Linked DNA regions of Homo sapiens: region 1 is linked to region 2. The links are contacts of gene promoters, found by promoter capture Hi-C in blood cells and fetal thymus (Javierre and others, 2016). All regions are on one chromosome and are shown on one strand. The core of a region is centred on a gene start or on the middle of the fragment in contact, and the rest is flanking DNA. Distances in the headings are between cores, read along the strand shown.

The links. Contacts are between HindIII fragments. The CHiCAGO score rates a contact against its expected background, and 5 or more counts as called.
Region 1: a fragment that was not itself captured here is called in contact with the fragment with the promoter of SPAG8 in region 2 in 1 of 17 cell types (non-activated CD4 T cells); the score reaches 6.2 in non-activated CD4 T cells.

What each region holds. Positions count from the first base shown.
Region 1 is chr9:35,076,052-35,078,551 of GRCh38, reverse strand. FANCG (FA complementation group G) reads left to right here. Exons shown (of 14, transcript NM_004629.2): 4 at 209-411; 5 at 1,153-1,288; 6 at 1,451-1,581; 7 at 1,682-1,828; 8 at 1,969-2,120. Among named protein-coding and RNA genes, the nearest start is that of FANCG, 2.6 kb to the left of the region's middle. The HindIII fragment of the contact is 2,719 bases long and covers 1-2,500 here.
Region 2 is chr9:35,809,097-35,814,580 of GRCh38, reverse strand. It overlaps SPAG8 (sperm associated antigen 8), which reads left to right and starts at 2,319. Exons shown (of 7, transcript NM_001039592.2): 1 at 2,319-2,477; 2 at 2,580-3,399; 3 at 3,524-3,698; 4 at 3,899-3,944; 5 at 4,028-4,142; 6 at 4,272-4,334; 7 at 4,449-4,786. The coding sequence starts at 2,434. The coding sequence ends at 4,643. HINT2 (histidine triad nucleotide binding protein 2) reads left to right here. Exons shown (of 5, transcript NM_032593.3): 2 at 797-937; 3 at 1,032-1,136; 4 at 1,243-1,315; 5 at 1,436-1,621. The coding sequence ends at 1,527. NPR2 (natriuretic peptide receptor 2) reads right to left here. Exons shown (of 22, transcript NM_003995.4): 21 at 5,334-5,425; 22 at 4,850-5,201. The coding sequence ends at 5,136. RefSeq lists enhancers at 2,501-2,550, 2,245-2,801. The HindIII fragment of the contact is 1,537 bases long and covers 1,802-3,338 here.

The sequences.
Region 1 (2,500 bases), core at 1-2,500, 730 kb after region 2:
GTTATTGCAGGGAGATGGGAGGATAAACAACATCTGTCACCTCCATGGAGAGAGGTGCCCTTCTCTGTGCTCTTCAGACCAGGTTGAGGTATTATTATTGTGACCTTTGGGGTCCTGCAGGAGAGGAAAGCCAGAGTGTGTGGGGAGATGGAGGATGAGGTGCTACTTCAGCTGTGTGTGTGTCTATGTGTGTGTGTATACTCTACAGTGCTGGAGACACAGGAGCAGCAGGGGCCCAGGTTGGAACAGGGGCTCAGGGAGCTGTGGGACTCTGTCCTTCGTGCTTCCTGCCTTCTGCCGGAGCTGCTGTCTGCCCTGCACCGCCTGGTTGGCCTGCAGGCTGCCCTCTGGTTGAGTGCTGACCGTCTTGGGGACCTGGCCTTGTTACTAGAGACCCTGAATGGCAGCCAGGTAATAGGGAAAGTGACCTGAAGCTGAGGGTCTCCTCCTTCCTTCCTCCTCCTTTCTCTCCAGCTGCAGTAGCATCATCATGTACTGGACAGGCGGCTGGGTTGGTGGTCGGAAAACCTGGATTCTCTCTGGGACTCTTGGGTGACCTTGCCCTGGTTGGTCTCTCATTGTGGGGATTCTCTTAGGAGTGTTTTTTAAAAATTGGACAGGCATGGTGGCTCATACCTGTAATCTCAGCACTTTGGGAGGCTGAGGTAGGAGGATCACTTGAACCCAAGAGGTGGAGGCAACAGTGAGTTGTGAGCTATGATCACGCCACTGCACTCCAGCCCTGCAGCCTGGGTGACAGAGGGAGACCCTGTCTCAAAAAAAAAAAAAATTTTTTTTTGGATAGGGATAGGGCTCTTGTGATCTTGCTCAAGTCAGCTCTCAGCCTTAGTCTCCTTATTAGTAACTCAAATATGGTCCTTGCCCTGAGTGAGGAGGCACGCTGGAATAGATCATCACTGCCCCAGGTTTTTCTTCCTTTTTTTTAATTCTTGCCTCATAGCTATCTATCTCTTAGAATTGGGGGAAACTACAGGCATTATGCATAGCTTCTTGCTTTGTAAGGGTAGCTGAGGCCTGTGTCCTCAAGGATCAAGAGGACCCTTGAGCTCAAGGTCTAGCCAGGATAGATGGAGATAGGAGAAGACGAGGAGGTTGTAGGCTTGGAGCTTCTGGTTGTCCTTCTTTCCCCAGAGTGGAGCCTCTAAGGATCTGCTGTTACTTCTGAAAACTTGGAGTCCCCCAGCTGAGGAATTAGATGCTCCATTGACCCTGCAGGATGCCCAGGGATTGAAGGATGTCCTCCTGACAGCATTTGCCTACCGCCAAGGTCAGCTAGCAACCTGACTCATCTCTTCTACCTTTAAGTGGTCCTCCAGACTCATGCCCTCTCTCTTGTCCCATTCAGTTCCATGGGCTTCTTAGACCCTTGTTCCCCATCATGACCCCTGCTCTATAGCCCTCTCCAAGCTCACACCCTGACTGTCCTCAGGTCTCCAGGAGCTGATCACAGGGAACCCAGACAAGGCACTAAGCAGCCTTCATGAAGCGGCCTCAGGCCTGTGTCCACGGCCTGTGTTGGTCCAGGTGTACACAGCACTGGGGTCCTGTCACCGTAAGATGGTAAAGACAGTCCTAGGGTGGATTGGGGAAACCACAAGCATTATGTATAGCTTTTTGCTTTGTAAGGGTAGCTGAGGCCCGTGTCCTCCTATCCCTTTAGGGAAATCCACAGAGAGCACTGTTGTACTTGGTTGCAGCCCTGAAAGAGGGATCAGCCTGGGGTCCTCCACTTCTGGAGGCCTCTAGGCTCTATCAGCAACTGGGGGACACAACAGCAGAGCTGGAGAGTCTGGAGCTGCTAGTTGAGGTAGGGAACTGCCAGGTGAAGATGTGGGGTGGAGGATTCCTGAGGTGCTTGTGATGGGGTGACTTGACTAGTCAAGATCCAAGTATAAGGAAGTATGGCTCCCAAAGATTATAGATACAATTTTTTTCTTTCTCTTTTAGGCCTTGAATGTCCCATGCAGTTCCAAAGCCCCGCAGTTTCTCATTGAGGTAGAATTACTACTGCCACCACCTGACCTAGCCTCACCCCTTCATTGTGGCACTCAGAGCCAGACCAAGCACATACTAGCAAGCAGGTGCCTACAGACGGGGAGGTGAGGTTCCCCTTGCTCACCTGAGCTTCTCTTCCCACTTCTGATGCCTCCCCTGGGGTGTGACTCTGCTTTTGTTCTTGTGACTTGGGGGATGAATGAGGCAGTGGCAGGACATAGGTCGCCACTCCTCAGCCTCTTACCTTGCTTCTAGACCTGAACTGAGGACTCTTCTCTAAGACATTAACCTTCTCTATCTTTGACACTCTGAAGTCTCTTCCCCAGTCCATTCTGTAACTGGGGTAGATCCATACTGAGCCAAAATTGGAGCCCTAAGACCTTCCCTCCCTTTCTCCTCCTCAGGGCCCATGAACATCCATCTGTTAGCTAAGAGAGAACATTCTCAGGACCCTTGCAGGTTCCCTGCTAGGGCCTAGGGTGAG
Region 2 (5,484 bases), core at 1,070-3,569:
CAGTGCTCTGCCCTCCTCAGGCTTCTGGCCTCCTAATGAGCACTAGTGTTAACCTCTCTTCTGCACTTGCCAGAAGCGGCTCGGAGGTCAGAGAATTCATTCCGTCCCGTTCTCCCCCAACGTGATGCAATGACATCAGCCTTCTCTGAATCCCTTACCCGAAGTTCCCTGGGGCTAGGGGAGCAGAGGTCACTTAGCTGAACTCTTACCTCCACTCATTCAAGGGACAAGAGTTAAAATTCACAGAGTCACATGTGACACCCAGATGAGGGGTCAACTAGTGTCAAACAGGGCGATTGCATTAAAACTTAAATAAAACAGGCGACAAGGCTTAAAGATCAGAAAACAAGTAACGGAAATAAGTGGAAATGTACTAACAAGGTGAGAGTGGAAAGAGATTCAAGCCATCGCAAGAGATTATGGAAACCATCCCTTTATTTTATATTAGAAGCTGAGAGAAGGAATTTATCTGAGGTAATTCAGTGGTATGGTAAGGTAGGAACTGAGACCAAAATCCCCAGTCTCTCATTCTAGATCCTTTCCCTAAACAGTGCTATATTTCGTGGACACATGAGCAGGAATCAATTGCACTGCTGAATCCTGATAATAATACCGCCTGTTATCTAACCAGGTCCAGCACCTTCTGGCCCTACCCTTTGCTGCTGGTGCTCTGAAATTCAGGAACTTTCCTCCTGGGTGGGAACGATGAATAGGTTATTAGAAGGACGAAATTAACAACTATCAGAGCCCAGCTTCTGCCAGCTCCCTCCTTTGAATATGGTCGATCCACCTTCAGGTCCGAGGAGCTGCAGGTGTGACTGATGGGAATGAAGTGGCCAAGGCCCAGCAGGCAACTCCTGGGGGAGCAGCCCCAACCATCTTCTCCCGGATCCTGGACAAGAGCCTCCCAGCTGACATTCTCTATGAGGACCAGCAGGTGGGGTGCTCTTAGGACCTATCCCCTTAGGAATGTTGTAGATACCATCCAACCTGTTGAAGTAACGTGGCCTCTGGCCTGTCACTTCCCCCAGTGTCTTGTGTTCCGTGATGTGGCCCCTCAGGCTCCTGTGCACTTCCTGGTCATTCCTAAGAAGCCCATTCCTCGGATTAGCCAGGCTGAAGAAGAAGACCAGCAGGTGGGAAGAACAGGGCCAGGGTTTGGCTGGGAGGAGCCCCTGGACCCAGCTAGAGGTCTTGCTCCCTATGAATGAAGCCACCTATGTCCCTCCGCTCTCTCTATAGCTTCTAGGACACCTACTCCTTGTGGCCAAGCAGACAGCAAAGGCTGAGGGCCTGGGAGATGGATACCGACTTGGTGAGTGACTTTTGGCCCTTGGTCCCTCACCTATGAATTCTCATTCCTACTTCTCAATATGATCTTCATTCTTCGACCTCTGCCATGATCCTGACTCCCTAACCCCAAGCTCAATTTCAGTGATCAACGATGGGAAGCTGGGTGCACAATCTGTGTATCATCTGCACATTCATGTACTTGGGGGCCGGCAGCTCCAGTGGCCTCCAGGTTGAACCTGCCAACTGATTAAAGGACACCAGACTCTGGATGCTTGGATGGAAAGGGAAAAATGGACCCTGTGATGCTAATAAAACTGTTCTCCCTTAATTATGCTCTCCTGTCTTTAATATAAAATTTTATACCACAAAGGGGAAAGAAAACTGATTCAGGGCTATGATGCCCCTTGACTGGTCTGAGTGAAAGACACTGAGGAGGTCCAACCTGTGGTTAAATGTTGCCTGCAGATATGTAAGTCTTCTTGACAAGTGGTCCACCCTAGGTCAAGCTTCTAGAAAAGTAACAGTAGGAATGAGCCTAAATGAGTAGGAAGAAACTGAAAGCCAATCCTGGCCCTTCTTCAGAGGTCAAACCAGGTTCTAAGGGCGCTTAGGAGGAGGGTGGTCAATATGAGGGTCTTTTATTAGAGGAGGAGTAATCACACCCAAACAAAAGCGGCTGCCTTTTCACTATTCTACGTCTCACCATTTTGCTCAAGCTAGTTTGTTTATTTTCATCCTTAACATTTGTTAAAGACCCCACTCACTTTTGAGAATGAACTAAGCAAACTAAGGGGAAGCTACTTGCCTCTCAGCAAACACCAAGTAGGCTGTAATCTAATGCCACAACCCTGTGCCTGTTTCCAACATATCCCCATAAAGCATCATCTTAGAAAACCGCACGCAAAGACTGTTTGGACGTGGAGGGCGAGGTCTTAAGCCAGCGGAACCCTAAAACCCCGTCTGAGGCGGAATGCCGCCGGGACCGGAAAGCGGACCTCCCTAACAGCACTAGGCTGAAGACTTCCGCCCCGCAGAGGACTTGCCTCCACCGCCACCTGCAAGTCCGCCCAGCTGTACTTCTGCGCAGGCTCCAGGAGTTGTTTGCTGTCTCTATGGCAACCCAGTAGCTGGAGTCTGAAGATGGAGACCAACGAGTCTACGGAGGGATCGCGGTCGCGGTCGCGGTGAGAGCCGCAGCTCTGGCTGCAGGCATAAGGGGACGAGGAAGGTCAGCTGACTTCCTCTGCTGCGCTTTTGACAGCCATGTCGTGTTTGCTTTCTTTCAGATCTTTAGACATACAGCCCAGCTCCGAAGGACTGGGGCCCACTTCGGAACCGTTTCCTTCTTCAGATGACAGTCCCAGGTCGGCCCTGGCAGCTGCAACCGCAGCAGCTGCAGCGGCTGCATCAGCTGCTGCAGCTACTGCAGCCTTCACCACTGCCAAAGCAGCTGCATTATCTACAAAGACCCCAGCGCCCTGTTCTGAGTTCATGGAGCCGTCCTCTGACCCCAGCCTTCTTGGGGAGCCCTGTGCGGGACCCGGCTTTACCCACAATATAGCCCATGGGAGTCTTGGCTTTGAGCCCGTCTATGTTTCCTGTATTGCTCAGGACACTTGCACTACAACTGACCATAGTTCTAATCCTGGCCCTGTTCCAGGCTCTAGCTCTGGGCCTGTTCTTGGTTCCAGCTCAGGTGCTGGCCATGGCTCTGGCTCTGGCTCTGGTCCTGGCTGTGGCTCTGTCCCTGGCTCTGGCTCTGGTCCTGGTCCTGGCTCTGGTCCTGGCTCTGGTCCTGGTCATGGCTCTGGCTCTCATCCTGGTCCTGCCTCTGGGCCTGGTCCAGACACTGGCCCTGACTCTGAGCTCAGCCCCTGTATTCCTCCAGGGTTCAGAAACCTGGTGGCAGATCGGGTCCCTAACTATACCTCCTGGAGTCAGCACTGCCCCTGGGAGCCCCAGAAACAACCACCTTGGGAATTTTTGCAAGTCTTAGAACCGGGTGCCCGAGGACTATGGAAACCCCCAGACATTAAAGGGAAGCTTATGGTTTGCTATGAAACTTTGCCGCGGGGCCAGTGCCTCCTCTACAACTGGGAGGAAGAGGTATTAAAGTTTTGGCCTGCTCCCTTTTCTTGAAGGCTGCCCTCAGTTTCTTAGGGGAGGCAGTAGTTTACATGAGGGTGGGTACCAGAAGGGATATTATAGTCATTCAACTTGGGATCCACAGAGAGCCACCAACCACCTGGATCAAGTCCCAAGCATGCAGGATGGCTCTGAGAGTTTTTTCTTCCGACACGGACACCGGGGACTGCTGACTATGCAACTAAAGTCACCCATGCCCTCCAGCACCACCCAGAAAGACTCGTACCAGCCACCAGGAAACGTCTATTGGCCACTTCGAGGTGTGAAATGTGAGAGGGTAGGCCAGAACGAGCCCATTACTCAGAGGGAAGAAGAGGAAGGAATTTCTGGTGGGGCTGTGGATTCTCCAGTGGATATAAGGGCGGAACCCCAAGGTTCTTCTTCCTTTTCTCAAGTTAGTTTCTTCTGGGCCTCCTTCTTAACCAGACCCCACCTTGCCCACCCCCCAACTCTCTCACAGGGAAGCGTGAAGCCATGCTGGAGATGCTCCTGCAGCATCAGATCTGGTAAGGGATTGGGTAAAGGGGAAGAGGGATGGGGAGGAGAAAAATTGGGTGAGAATGGCCTTGACACCCCTCGGGCTACATAGTAAAGAGGTGCAGGCAGAACAGGAACCCACAAGGAAGCTCTTCGAGGTTGAGTCTGTGACACACCATGACTACCGAATGGAGCTGGCACAAGCAGGGACTCCTGCCCCAACAAAGGTGAGAACCCACCCCCCATCCCCCGCCACTTGCACCAGCTGGGCTCTGACAGGCTGTGGCCAAGTACCAAGCCCAGAGGTTGAGAGAGAGGGCTGAAGGCCAGGAGTTACTCAGTACCCTCCCTCACAGCCTCACGACTACCGCCAGGAGCAACCTGAGACCTTCTGGATACAGAGGGCACCACAGCTGCCGGTGTGTGAGGGTGACTAGGTGTTGGGGGCAGAGCGGGGCAGGAAAGGTAGGGCAGAGTTGTTTTGTTCTGGCTTGGGGAGAGTGGGATCCATCCTCATCCTGGCACTCCTCCAGGGTGTCAGTAACATCAGGACATTGGACACACCATTCCGGAAGAACTGCAGCTTCTCAACACCAGTACCCTTGTCTCTGGGGAAACTTTTGCCCTATGAACCTGAGAATTACCCCTACCAATTGGGAGAAATATCTTCCCTTCCCTGTCCCGGAGGAAGGCTGGGTGGTGGAGGGGGGAGAATGACTCCTTTCTGAGGGGTGAGGAGGGAAGTGGGGTATGGAATATGGAATCTATTTCTGTCTGCACTAGAGAGGTCGGGAGGAAGTTAATTCTCACTGTACTTGAAGAGGCTTTACATAAAGGGTTCTCTCTCATCCCAAGACTGCTAATTTAGTGATTCTGTGAGTCACTGTGTGCATACCCCATAACCTTTCCTTGGGATTGCCCCTATCCCACACTATGACATCAGAACTTTTTTTATTATTGTTTTATATTTGACCAAAATATTCTGGTTTAGATACAGATATTTACAGAAAGTAGGGAGGAAGGGGACCAAGCCAGAGAGGGACAGGTATATGTACAGGGCTGAGCTGCAGAGGGCTACAACTTCCATATAAGGTAGGTTTTTTTGTGGCTGTTTTCCATTGCATATGAAAATGTCCATTTCTGGTGTGTGCAGACATGGTGGCCATTGCCCACCCAGGTACCAGCAGCAGAAGACTATCTGACTTGGAAAGAATGGGGGTTTACAGGAGTCCAGGAGGTCCTTTCCGCTCTCCTAAGAGCCAGTATGTTCGCATCTTTCCTTTTCCCTGGAAGTGGGAGAGTGGACATGATTCAGATGCTTCGATGTTAGTCCCTTTGTCTCCCTCTCTTTCCCTATGATTCCCATAATCACTTTCACCCTCCCTTTCCATGCCCCCCTCCCCATGGCCTGCCATCACCTTCATTTCCACATCCCCCCGAAGCTCTAGCTGGAAGCATCCTAGCTCATCTAGGGCATCCTTGGTGGTAGAGGAGACATGGATCTTCAGCGCTGGGGTGGGTGGAATGGGGAGGATGGTGGAATGAGGAATCAAAGAAAAGGCAATCAAA